2 separate regions of the Homo sapiens genome follow, and region 1 is linked to region 2. The links are contacts of gene promoters, found by promoter capture Hi-C in blood cells and fetal thymus (Javierre and others, 2016). All regions are on one chromosome and are shown on one strand. The core of a region is centred on a gene start or on the middle of the fragment in contact, and the rest is flanking DNA. Distances in the headings are between cores, read along the strand shown.

Region 1 (5,122 bases), core at 1,370-3,869, 6.8 Mb after region 2:
CTAGGGCTGAGGTGGCCTCTGCTGAGCAGGCTTGTTTCAAAAGCTCCGGCTTCTTGGCGGCCCGAAGCTTCCACGCAATCCTCTTAGGCTGCCGAGCTAAGTCCCTCTGGCAAAGGGGGTGACCCCCATCCTTGCACCCCCCACAGGTAGGGAGGCGTCTGTTGGTATTGGTCAGTGACCAACTCTGGGAGCCTACTGCTCTGACTGGTGGAAGGGTGGGTGGGGGCATGGCTGTGGTCCCAGGCACAGCTGAGCCTAGCACAGAGAAGCTGGACCAGGGTTAGGGGGGCCCTGCAGCAGGAACGTGCATCTGTGCAGAGCAGACTAAGTGCTGGGCCGGAAGCAATCCTTCAGGGGCCCTAGACAGGCAGCTCTGTGACCGCCAAGTGTAGAATGTGGCTGTAAGAGGCTCAGAACATCACCTCCCAGGCTGGGAGCTGCAGTGTGTGTGTGTGTGTGGGTGTGTGTGTGTACAGTTGGGGGAGGGGGGAGAAAGAAAAGTGGGAAGATGCCCCTCCAACTCTAGGACCCCAATTTCCTGACAGCCTGAGAAAGACCACAGAGCAAGGATTGAGGTCTGTGCAGGGGAGCAGTGTCTCGGACTCTGCTCAGCTCCAGGCTGGCTGGACCTTCCAGGCTCCCCAGGCACACCTGAGAGCCTACAGCCTCTGGACCCAAGAGTGCCAGCCAACACGCCTACAACCGCCCAGCCTCCTACCACCAGCCTGTCTGCAAATTCAGTCCTAAGGCAAATTTGGAAGAGAAACAAAAGGCAGACAAGAAGCCCTGCTCCTGGCCCTTCCCAGCCCAGACTTTGGGGAGAAAGGCCCCGCAGGGCATCCCTGCAGGACGAATGGGCACCAACAGGAACAGGAGGAAAATAACCCCAACTTTAACTGCTGGAAACCCAGCAGCACCCCAGGTTCCCCTACAAACGGCTTCCCAGAAGAGCTGCCCCGGCACCCCTCCCATGCTCTGTGTCCTCACGCAGCTCAGCTCTGACATGGGGCTGGGGGACCCCAGAGAAGGGGTGTGGCAGCACAGGTTCCCTGGACCAGCTCAACTACCCCCAACCTGGCTGGTAGCTTCCTGGGGAAGGTGGTCCCCCATCGGGTGGCTTTTGTTCCTCTCTCCAGGCAAGCCTGTGCCTGGAAGAATTCGGCTGGCAGGCCCCACTGGGAGGACAGGCGGTACTGCCTCCTCCCCGCCCCCAGCCCCAGGTCAACAGGGCCTTTGTTCTACCTGCACACACCGGCAGGCAGGCGGGCAGAGCCAGCCCCCTTCCCTGGCAGCTCCCCCACCCTCTGAAGGCAGGCACTCCAGGCACAGGGGCGGCACCTCACTACTCTCACTTCCACTTTTGGGACCACAGCACCGAAGCGGCACGGGGAAGCCAACACTCCAGGTAGGCCACGCACACACCCAGAAGCCCGCGTCCCCAAGTCCGGCGGGCCAGACCTCACGGCGCACAGCAGGTAAGGTGGCCCGAGGGCAGCGGGCGGGGACCCTGGAGAAAACCCGGGCGCTGCGCAGTCAAGCCGGCAGTAGGGCAGCACAAGGCAAGGAAGAGAGTGAGAGCGAGGTCAGAAAGCGCGGTGACAGCCGGCTCACCCAGAGGAGCTGGGAGCCTCGGGCGCTCGGCAGGTCGGGAGGGGTGCCGGCGAGTGGGGGCCCCCAAGAGGGCAGAAGGGGGTAGGGAAGGCAGGGCCGACCCAGTACAGCACGGCGGGCATACGGCCCGGCCTCGGGGGCGCAGCTGCGCGAGGATCCCGCCGCCCGGGCGCTCACCTGGGCGTGCGCAGCGCGGCGGAGTCGCGGCGGTCCAGCACGCCGGGCACGCAGTTGGTGAGCTCGGTCCAGTCGGCGTGCAGCCCGCAGCTCCAGCCGGTGGAGAAGCGGGAGAAGAGCCAAGTCTCGCGGCGGTTGGGCCGGTAGCAGGTGCACTTCTTCTGGCCGGGCCGGCAGTCGCACGGCACCTCGAGGCGTACGTTCTGCACGAGGTGGCGGCCGAAGGTGGTGCCGCCCGTCTTCTGGATGTGCAGGAAGACGATCACGTCGTCGCCCTTCATGTCGAAGCGCAGCGAGCGCTCCAGCTCGCGGACCGGGAAGTAGTACTTCTTCTCGTAGTGGGGGTCGGGTGTGGGGAACAGGTCCAGGTCGTCGGGCGGCGCGCGGCCGCCGGGCGCGCCCAGGCTCAGTCCTGGGCCCGCGTACTGGTACAAGATGAGCATGAAGCACACCGAGCCCGCCACCACCAGCACGAACTTGCTGGCGCGCTCAACCATGGTCCTGCCGCCGGCGCGCCGCCGCCGCATGTGTCACCATCGCCGGGGCCCGGGCGCGGGGCGCGGGGCCTGGGAGGGCAGGAGGCGCGGGCGCAGCTGCCTCCGCCGCCGCCCGCGCTCCGGCCCGGCCCGGCTACTCGGCGCCCAGGCCGCCCGCAGCGGCGCGGGCCCCGACCCTCCGCGGTGCCATGGCTGCTCCCCGCCCGGCCCCGGCTCCCCGGGCCCGACGCCCGACTCCGCTCCCGCTCGGCCCCGCTCCCGGCCCCGGCCAGCACAGCGCTCTCCGCGCCCCCAGCACCAGCCCGCTCCGCTCCACTCCGCGCCGAGAACGCTCTGCGCCGCCCCGCGCGCCGCCGCGTCTCCGCAGTCCGCCGCCGCCGCCCCGCCCCGGTCCGCCCCTGGCCCGCCCCCGTGGCGTCTCTTGCCGTCGCCGCCCGCGCCGATCCTCGGCCCCGCCTCCGGAGTGCCGGGGTTCGCCGCGGGTGCTGGGCGCGGGACCTGGGTCTGCTGCGGTGGCGAGGCCGCTAGCAGGCGGGCAGCCAGCGACTGGGAAGTGATTCCGCCCTCAGGGGAGTGGGGGACCAACCGGCAGTGCGGAGCCGAGGCGTGGGAGGCTCTCCTGGCGGGGGCCGCGGTGAGGGGGCGCGGCGGCTGGCGCTTCTGGAGCCTGGGTCCGTACCCCCTCCTCCCCAAGTCCCAGCCGCCCACGTCCCCGCAGCCCGCGCGGGAGGAAAGGCCTTGACCTTGCACGCTGGGGCGCTGAAGTTAGACGCTAGCCTACTGGGCTGCACTTCCAGGGACCAGGGCGGCGGGGGCCGCCCACCACCAGGACCGAGAGGGAAAGCGAGGCTTTCCTTTCCTGCTCGACCCCCTCACCCCTGCGGCTGGCTTTGGGACAGTGCCCCGCAGCCCCGCATTGAAGAGATGTTGGGCTGTCTGCAGAGGCCTGCGGAGCGGCTTTATGGCTTCCTCCTTGTTTGAAAAGAATATCAGACGAGGTGCATTTTCCCCCATCCATGTTTATTATACTCCAATGAAAGAGTTATAAAACATTGAGCCAATTCTTAAGAATCGTGAGTGCCCACCAAATATTCTGTCTTTCGTGGGTTGGTTGGAGAGTCCAGCGGCCCGGGCCCAACCTGGCTGCGGAGGGCTCGCTCCACGTTGGCTCGTGTGTGGGCCGGGTGGTGCGGGCTCCTCACTCGCCGCCGCCCAGCCTGGCAAGCACGCGCGGCATTCGTGGGGCGGGGGGTCCCGCCAGGTGCCCACTCACACTGCTTGGGCTCTGGCAGTACTCGGAGGCTGCAGCCCGTCGGAAGCGCAGGAGTGGGGCTGGGACCTGCCAGGATCTCACAGCTGCAGGGCCGGCCGCGGTGGGCCCTAGTGTGTTGGTTCAGGCCAGCGAGGGCTCTGGGAGCGAGTCTGGCTGCCAGGCGTGGGCTCCCAGTGTCCACGTCAAGCCCTGCCGGGGACGGGGTGGGGGGGGAGGCGGGGTGGTGCCCTGCCTTCCGTTCTGTTAGGGACCGGAAGCGATCATGGGGTGTCAATTATGCCTCAGTAAAGCTGTTAAACGTAGACAACATCACACCAGAAAGCCCTCCTGGAAGCAAACCCAGAGAGCTGGAAAAACCAACACCCCAAACCCAGCTGAGCGGGCGGCATGCATTTTCCAAAGGGACCGCAAGAATATCCGCTGTGGACAGGCGGGTGCAGAACCCTCAACACAGCCCAGCGCACCCTGGAGTCCATGGTGTGGGGTCCTCAGTGGGACCTAGGGCCCCAAAGCCCCTGCTCATCTTGTAGGCTGCTTTAAAACTGTCCCTGGCCCGAGGGTCCTGGGGGCAGCTTGGACAAGCTTCTCCAGAAGTGACTCATTCCTATAGGAGTGGGGGTGCAGTCCCCATGGGACACAGGTGGGGCCGCCCTGCAGTGTGCTTGGACCTGCCTGCAGCCCCTTGACGCAGTCTGTGCCTGAGCCCTGGGGAGCCTTCCTGTGTGGCCTAGGGGAGCACAGCTGCCCCGGGTCCACCCCCCAGATGTCCTTACCCAGATAAGGATCCTCGTGCTACATCATAATTAAGGCTGCTCTTTTGGAGACCTGCTGGGTGCCAGGCATTGTAGAGGTGTCATTTCCAATTCCATCAGCAAATCTGCGGGGGTAGGCTGTGATATCCATTTACAGAAGAGAAAACTGAGGTTCAAAGGGGTTAAGACCCTGGTTCCAAGGTCAACCACTCTCACCCCATGAGAGTCAGCAGAGCTGGGATCCTGATTCCTGCTGTGAGCCCCAGAACCCTCCCCTTCCCCACCTCTGCACTTGCCCCAGCTCCCTAGGCCAGGGATGAGAGCGTCTACAGGGGCCACTCCTGAGAGCCTGGTGACCGTCACTGCCACCAAGGGGGAACGTGGGCCCAGAGTGTTCAAGGGAAAGCTGGAGCAGCTCCGAAGGCCAACGAAGCCATCGGTACTTGGGCCATGGCTCCACCCTGTGATGATCTCACTGTCCCAAGGGGGAAACTGAGGCCCAGGCAGGGACGAAGTGCCTGTGATAAGGTCCCACCCTTGAATGGGAGCCAGAGCAGCCTGACCCATGGAGCAACATCTCCCAGAACAAGCTATTTAATCCAACTTCATACCTGCCACACTGGCTGATGGGAAGCACTCACATTAGCCAGGAAGCCCTTTCTTTCTAGAATTCTTTTAAGAGGAGGGAAATCTGCCTGGCTGGCTACAGGACTTTGCTCAGTCTTCCACTTTGATTGAAGCCCTGCACAGGCACCTGAGACCCTAAGGCTGTAGGTGAGTTTCTGGGCTCTGAAAGTCAAGTCAGATGAGCC
Region 2 (4,724 bases), core at 579-3,078:
CCAGGCCTCCTGACTCCCCAGACACCACAGCTCCCTCTTTTCAGAGAATTGGAGAGTCGGTTACATAAATGAGCTGAAGAGTCTAATGGATTAAAACTAAGTATATTAGATTCAATACCCCCATGTTAAATCCACTAATTTACTCATCTCATAGTTTTGTGACTTATTTAAATATCTTGCATGGGGAAACAGATTGAATGCTGTGAAAATTTTTATCTGTAATACATCAGCTTAAGTCTATGGAGTCACACCATTTGTGCAAGTACACACACACACCCTCGCACGTGCATGCACGCGCACTGGCCAGCTGACCTCAAAACACATCTCTTGCCCCTACCTGGGGATTAGCAGCTTGATCCATGATCTTTAGCAGCAGAGTTTGGTCCTGCTCCCTCACAGAGTCTTTAGCATCTCCTAGTCTGTCTATTAGACTTGGCAGCACTGAAAATCAAAATGGAAACTGATCAAATGAAACCCTATTTGGGGGTCTGTGGTCACCAAGTATTCCTATCTCAATTATGTGGGAAGACAAACCCCTGACCTAAATGATGTATCTCATTCTAAAACCACTCATCTTTGCTCACAGCTCTACTCTCCTTGCTGAAGTCCATGAAAGTCACCAAAAGAGTCTGCAAAATCCTTTGCATGGACAGATACACTATTTGTCTTCCTCCTTACCCCACGTTCCTCCAGCCAGTTCCCAACGTATTTGTAAGCTGATAAAAATGGAAGACCTTGAGAGGAAGAGTCAACAGAAAGGAAAATTTAGGTAAAACACAAGGAGAGGGGCTCCAGTATATGTGTTTGGGGGTGGAAGGAGTGGGCACTTATGAATAAATCTTAAGTTTCATCACTATTGTGTATTTTTAGTTTTACATCACGCCCATACACACATGAGACAGAGCCCAGCTCTCCATCTTCCCCGACATACCCAGGGTGGACCCTCCCACCAGTGGTCCAAGTGCACCTGTAGACCAGAGATCAGCTTATTTTAAGAGTTTGTAAACCTCTATTACATGAGATATCCCTGAATAATTCAGCTAATTTAGGAGGAAAATGGAACACTATTAAAATATCAAATGTCTAAAAGTAAAAGCTTTTTTTAAATTTGTAAACAGTCGGTGCTCATGACCTTTTCAGAAGGAGCATATTGGTCGGAAAGTTAACAGTAAAGAATACATGTGTACCAACGTAAAACAGAGAAATTCCATAAGGAAATGGTTGCATAGAGATGCTTAGTGTTTATACTACCCCCATGAAACACCGGAGGTCAGGAATTTAGAGGTATTTAAATCTATGAAATCTGTGGGTTTTGTTTCATTTTGCTGACATACTGTTTTCCCTTCAAAATAAGAGTGAACATTTACTATACATTTGTAATGACATTTACAATCAAGGTGAAAATAGTCATGCCAACCATAATCATCTGGAGAAAAATACAACTGGCTTGGTTTTATAGGATTTCTCAAGGAAAACTGCCTCTCATTAAAGGGGACCGGGGTCAGGGTAAAATATGACTTGGTTGGCACTAAAGAGTGACAGCTAATTTAGCATAAGAAATAAAAATGGCACTAATATTTCATATTAGAACACGTATTACTAAGTTCCGTGTGAGAACACAGTGAAGCCAGTACAAAGGTATGGGGGAGGGTAAGGGCGCCCGCAGGCCCAGAGGCCAGGGGAGTCCAGCTGGAAGGGAAGGCAGCGGGGCGGCCGACCCAGGCTGCGAGTGCTTAGGGGGGCTGCGGGGGAGGGCGGGGACTGGCTGTTTGGGAGGAGCGGAAGGGAGGGAGAGGGGGCTGGAGGGGAGGCAGGGTGGCTGCCGGGAGGGTTTGGGAGCCGGGGAGGCCGAGGGAAGGCTGGGGGTCTGAAGGGGCCGGGTCCGCTCCACAAGTGCCGCAGCTCACCTGTGCCGATCTGCGCCTTGAACCGATCCTGCAGCCGGGTCACCAGGGCGGACAGGATGTCCATGCCCAGCAGAACCACCTGCAGCGGGAAACACCGGGAGCCTGTTAGCAGCCGGCCTGCGGGGCAGCGCTCCCGCCCACCCGCTCCGGGGAGGCCTAGACATTTCCGGCCCAGACGCAGTCCGAGAGTCCAGACGCATGCCGACTGGAGGACCAAAGAGATTAGCACGAAGAAGGATGATCTTCCACAAAAAGAGCTATGTACAGCTATAATGGAAAATACTCGGTGAGGAGAAACGAAATAAAAGGCAATACAGCGTAGCCAAACCCGGGTTAGCTGCGGGTGGAGTTCAAGAGCGCGCCGCGGTCCCGCCCCCGCCAGCCCCGCCCCGGCGAGAAAAGCGTATGCAAATTTTCGAGCGGCCGACGCGCGGTCTTCTGGGTAAAACCGAGCCGCCGCTTTTGCGACCCTTCGGGAGCCTCAGAAAACAAAGAATTGGGGTGTCGTCGAAAGCTGTGGAGGCTGGAGGTAAGCTAGCTACCAGACCGACTAGGGCGAGGCTCACGAATTAATTACCACAACCCTACCAGGTATTGGCGCTTCCTGCTTGCAGCCCAGGGACTTTCTATTATAACCATCCTTTTCTTGGGGTTGCGCTACTGTCCAATGAGCGCATAGTGAGGGCAGTACTGCTAACGCCTGAACAACACACCCGCATCAACTAGAGCTTTTGCTTTATTTTGGTGCAATTTTTGGAAAAATGAAAACCTGTTTTCATAGACTTATCAGTTCAAACAGCAGTAATTCGTAAATAAACTAGTACTTTGTGGTTAAACCAGTAGAGGGTGCACAAGACGCGTGGTTTTAGTGTCGCAAGTAAAGTTCTTTCAGTTTTTGCGGTGATTAAACGGGAAGGATTTCAACAGAACTTCACCCCTTTAACTTTACGCCGATCATCAACTGTTCTGTAACTTCCTTATGCTGAGTCAGCCCAGTAGTCTAGGTCAAGTTTCAATAGGAGACGAAGTTTCAGTAGGTCTTTGCACCTCACATAAAATGTAATCCAGGTCGGGCGCGGTGGCTCACGCCTGCAATCCCAGCACTTTGGGAGGCCGAGGGGGGCGGATCACGAGGTCAGGAGATCGAGACCATCCTGGCTAACACAGTGAAACTCCGTCTCTCCTAAAAATACAAAAAATTAGCCGGGCGAGGTGGCCGGCGCCTGTAGTCCCAGCTGCTCGGGAGGCTGAGGCAGGAGAATGGCGTGAATCCGGGGGGGTGGAGCCTGCAGTGAGCAGAGATCGCGCCACTGCACTCCAGCCTGGGCGACAGCGAGACTCCATCTCAAAAAAAAAAAAAAAATAGTAATCCCAGCACTTGGGGAGGCCGAGGCGGGCGGATCAGGAGCTCAGGAGATAGAGACCATCCTGGCCAACATGGTGAAACCCCGTCTCTACTAAAAATACAAAAATTAGCTGGGCGTGGCGGCGCATGCCTGTAGTCCCAGCTACTTGGGAGGCTGAGGCAGGAGAATCGCTTGAACCTGGGAGGCGGAGGTTGCAATGAGCCAACATCGGGCCACTGCACTCCAGCCTGGCGACAGAGCAAGACTCGGTCTCAAAAAAAAAAAGAAAAAGAAATGTGAAATAGTGAGCTTTTTGTGGAATGGTCCAATAGTCAGATTAAACCCTTCCTCCGTATGAAGCAGTTTTGCACTGTGAGACTTCATTAAACATGCTTCCAACACAAAGCCGGGCACTGCCCAATGTTCACACAACAACCAAACAGGACGGGGCAACAGTTAGGATTTCTTGTATACAGCCTGTGCCTGCCTGCCTCTGGCGGCTGATAAAAGCAAAAACTGCAGACTTTTCTATTCAGCTTTGAAATCTACTGCTTCAAAACTGAAGGAATCTAAATTGGCCCAATAATCCCCACAATACATAAAATGTTCTTGCAAGAAACTGGCTACTTGACAATATTGAAGAAAATAATTTTTAAAACTTTTATAAAGAGAACAATTTGTAAACAGATTTTTTAAATAATATAATAATGGTATAAACACTTTAAAATAATGACTCTACTTTCCAGCTAAAAGGGATTAGGTTTCACACTATGACTTCCTTCCAGAGTACAGTATGAAGTGGAGGAGTAACTATCCTGCGGAGAAAACTGACAGACGCAACCTCAGCCAGATGGTGGAGGTCAACATCAAGTACACGTCATATGATGTCATGAAAACGGCATTTTGCCTGTGACAGTCCTTCCCAAGACCCTTAAGCTCAGTCTAAACATGAGGAAAACATCAGAGAAATTCCAATAGAGGGGCATCCTACAAAACACCTGACCAGTACCCCTCAAAACTGTCCAGGTCATCAAAAACAAGAACTCTGAGAAACTGTCACAGCAACAGGAGCCAAGGGAAACATAACAACTAAAGGTAATGAGGTATCCTGGAAAAGAGTGTGCAACAGAAAGATGACATTTTTCCTTAGGTAGAAACTAAGGAAATATGAATAAAGCATGAACTCTAGTTAATAATAATACATCAATACTGGCTCATTAATTGTAATAAACCACATTAATGTTAGATATAATAATGAGATATTTGTAATTTTTCTGTAAAAAAGTTTATTTTTTAAAAAGAACAGCCCATCACTTAAGTGAGTTATTTAGCTTTTGTCTGGTGAAATCTTAAGCTTATCTGCACAGTTGCATTACTGGTTGCAGGTAGGGGTGTTATTCATGACAGAAACATCCCTTCATACATCGTTCAAGGCTAAGGTAAAGAGGACTATTGTTTATTTGGGGGAAAG

The links. Contacts are between HindIII fragments. The CHiCAGO score rates a contact against its expected background, and 5 or more counts as called.
Region 1: a contact is called between the fragment with the promoter of HS6ST1 here and the fragment with the promoter of CLASP1-AS1 in region 2, in 1 of 17 cell types (naive CD8 T cells). The highest score is 5.5, in naive CD8 T cells.

The regions. Positions count from the first base shown.
Region 1 is chr2:128,316,249-128,321,370 of GRCh38, forward strand. HS6ST1 (heparan sulfate 6-O-sulfotransferase 1) reads right to left here and starts at 2,620. Exons shown (of 2, transcript NM_004807.3): 1 at 1,789-2,620. The coding sequence starts at 2,315. RefSeq lists an enhancer at 478-627 and silencers at 1,629-1,858, 2,553-2,962. The HindIII fragment of the contact is 4,073 bases long and covers 66-4,138 here.
Region 2 is chr2:121,528,340-121,533,063 of GRCh38, forward strand. It overlaps CLASP1-AS1 (CLASP1 antisense RNA 1), which reads left to right and starts at 1,829. Exons shown (of 2, transcript XR_001739683.2): 1 at 1,829-2,436; 2 at 4,039-4,724. CLASP1 (cytoplasmic linker associated protein 1) reads right to left here. Exons shown (of 41, transcript NM_001395891.1): 3 at 1,908-1,986; 4 at 338-441. RNU4ATAC (RNA, U4atac small nuclear) reads left to right here and starts at 2,541; the gene lies at 2,541-2,670. RefSeq lists a silencer at 1,699-1,898 and an enhancer at 2,089-2,218. The HindIII fragment of the contact is 3,511 bases long and covers 1,095-4,605 here.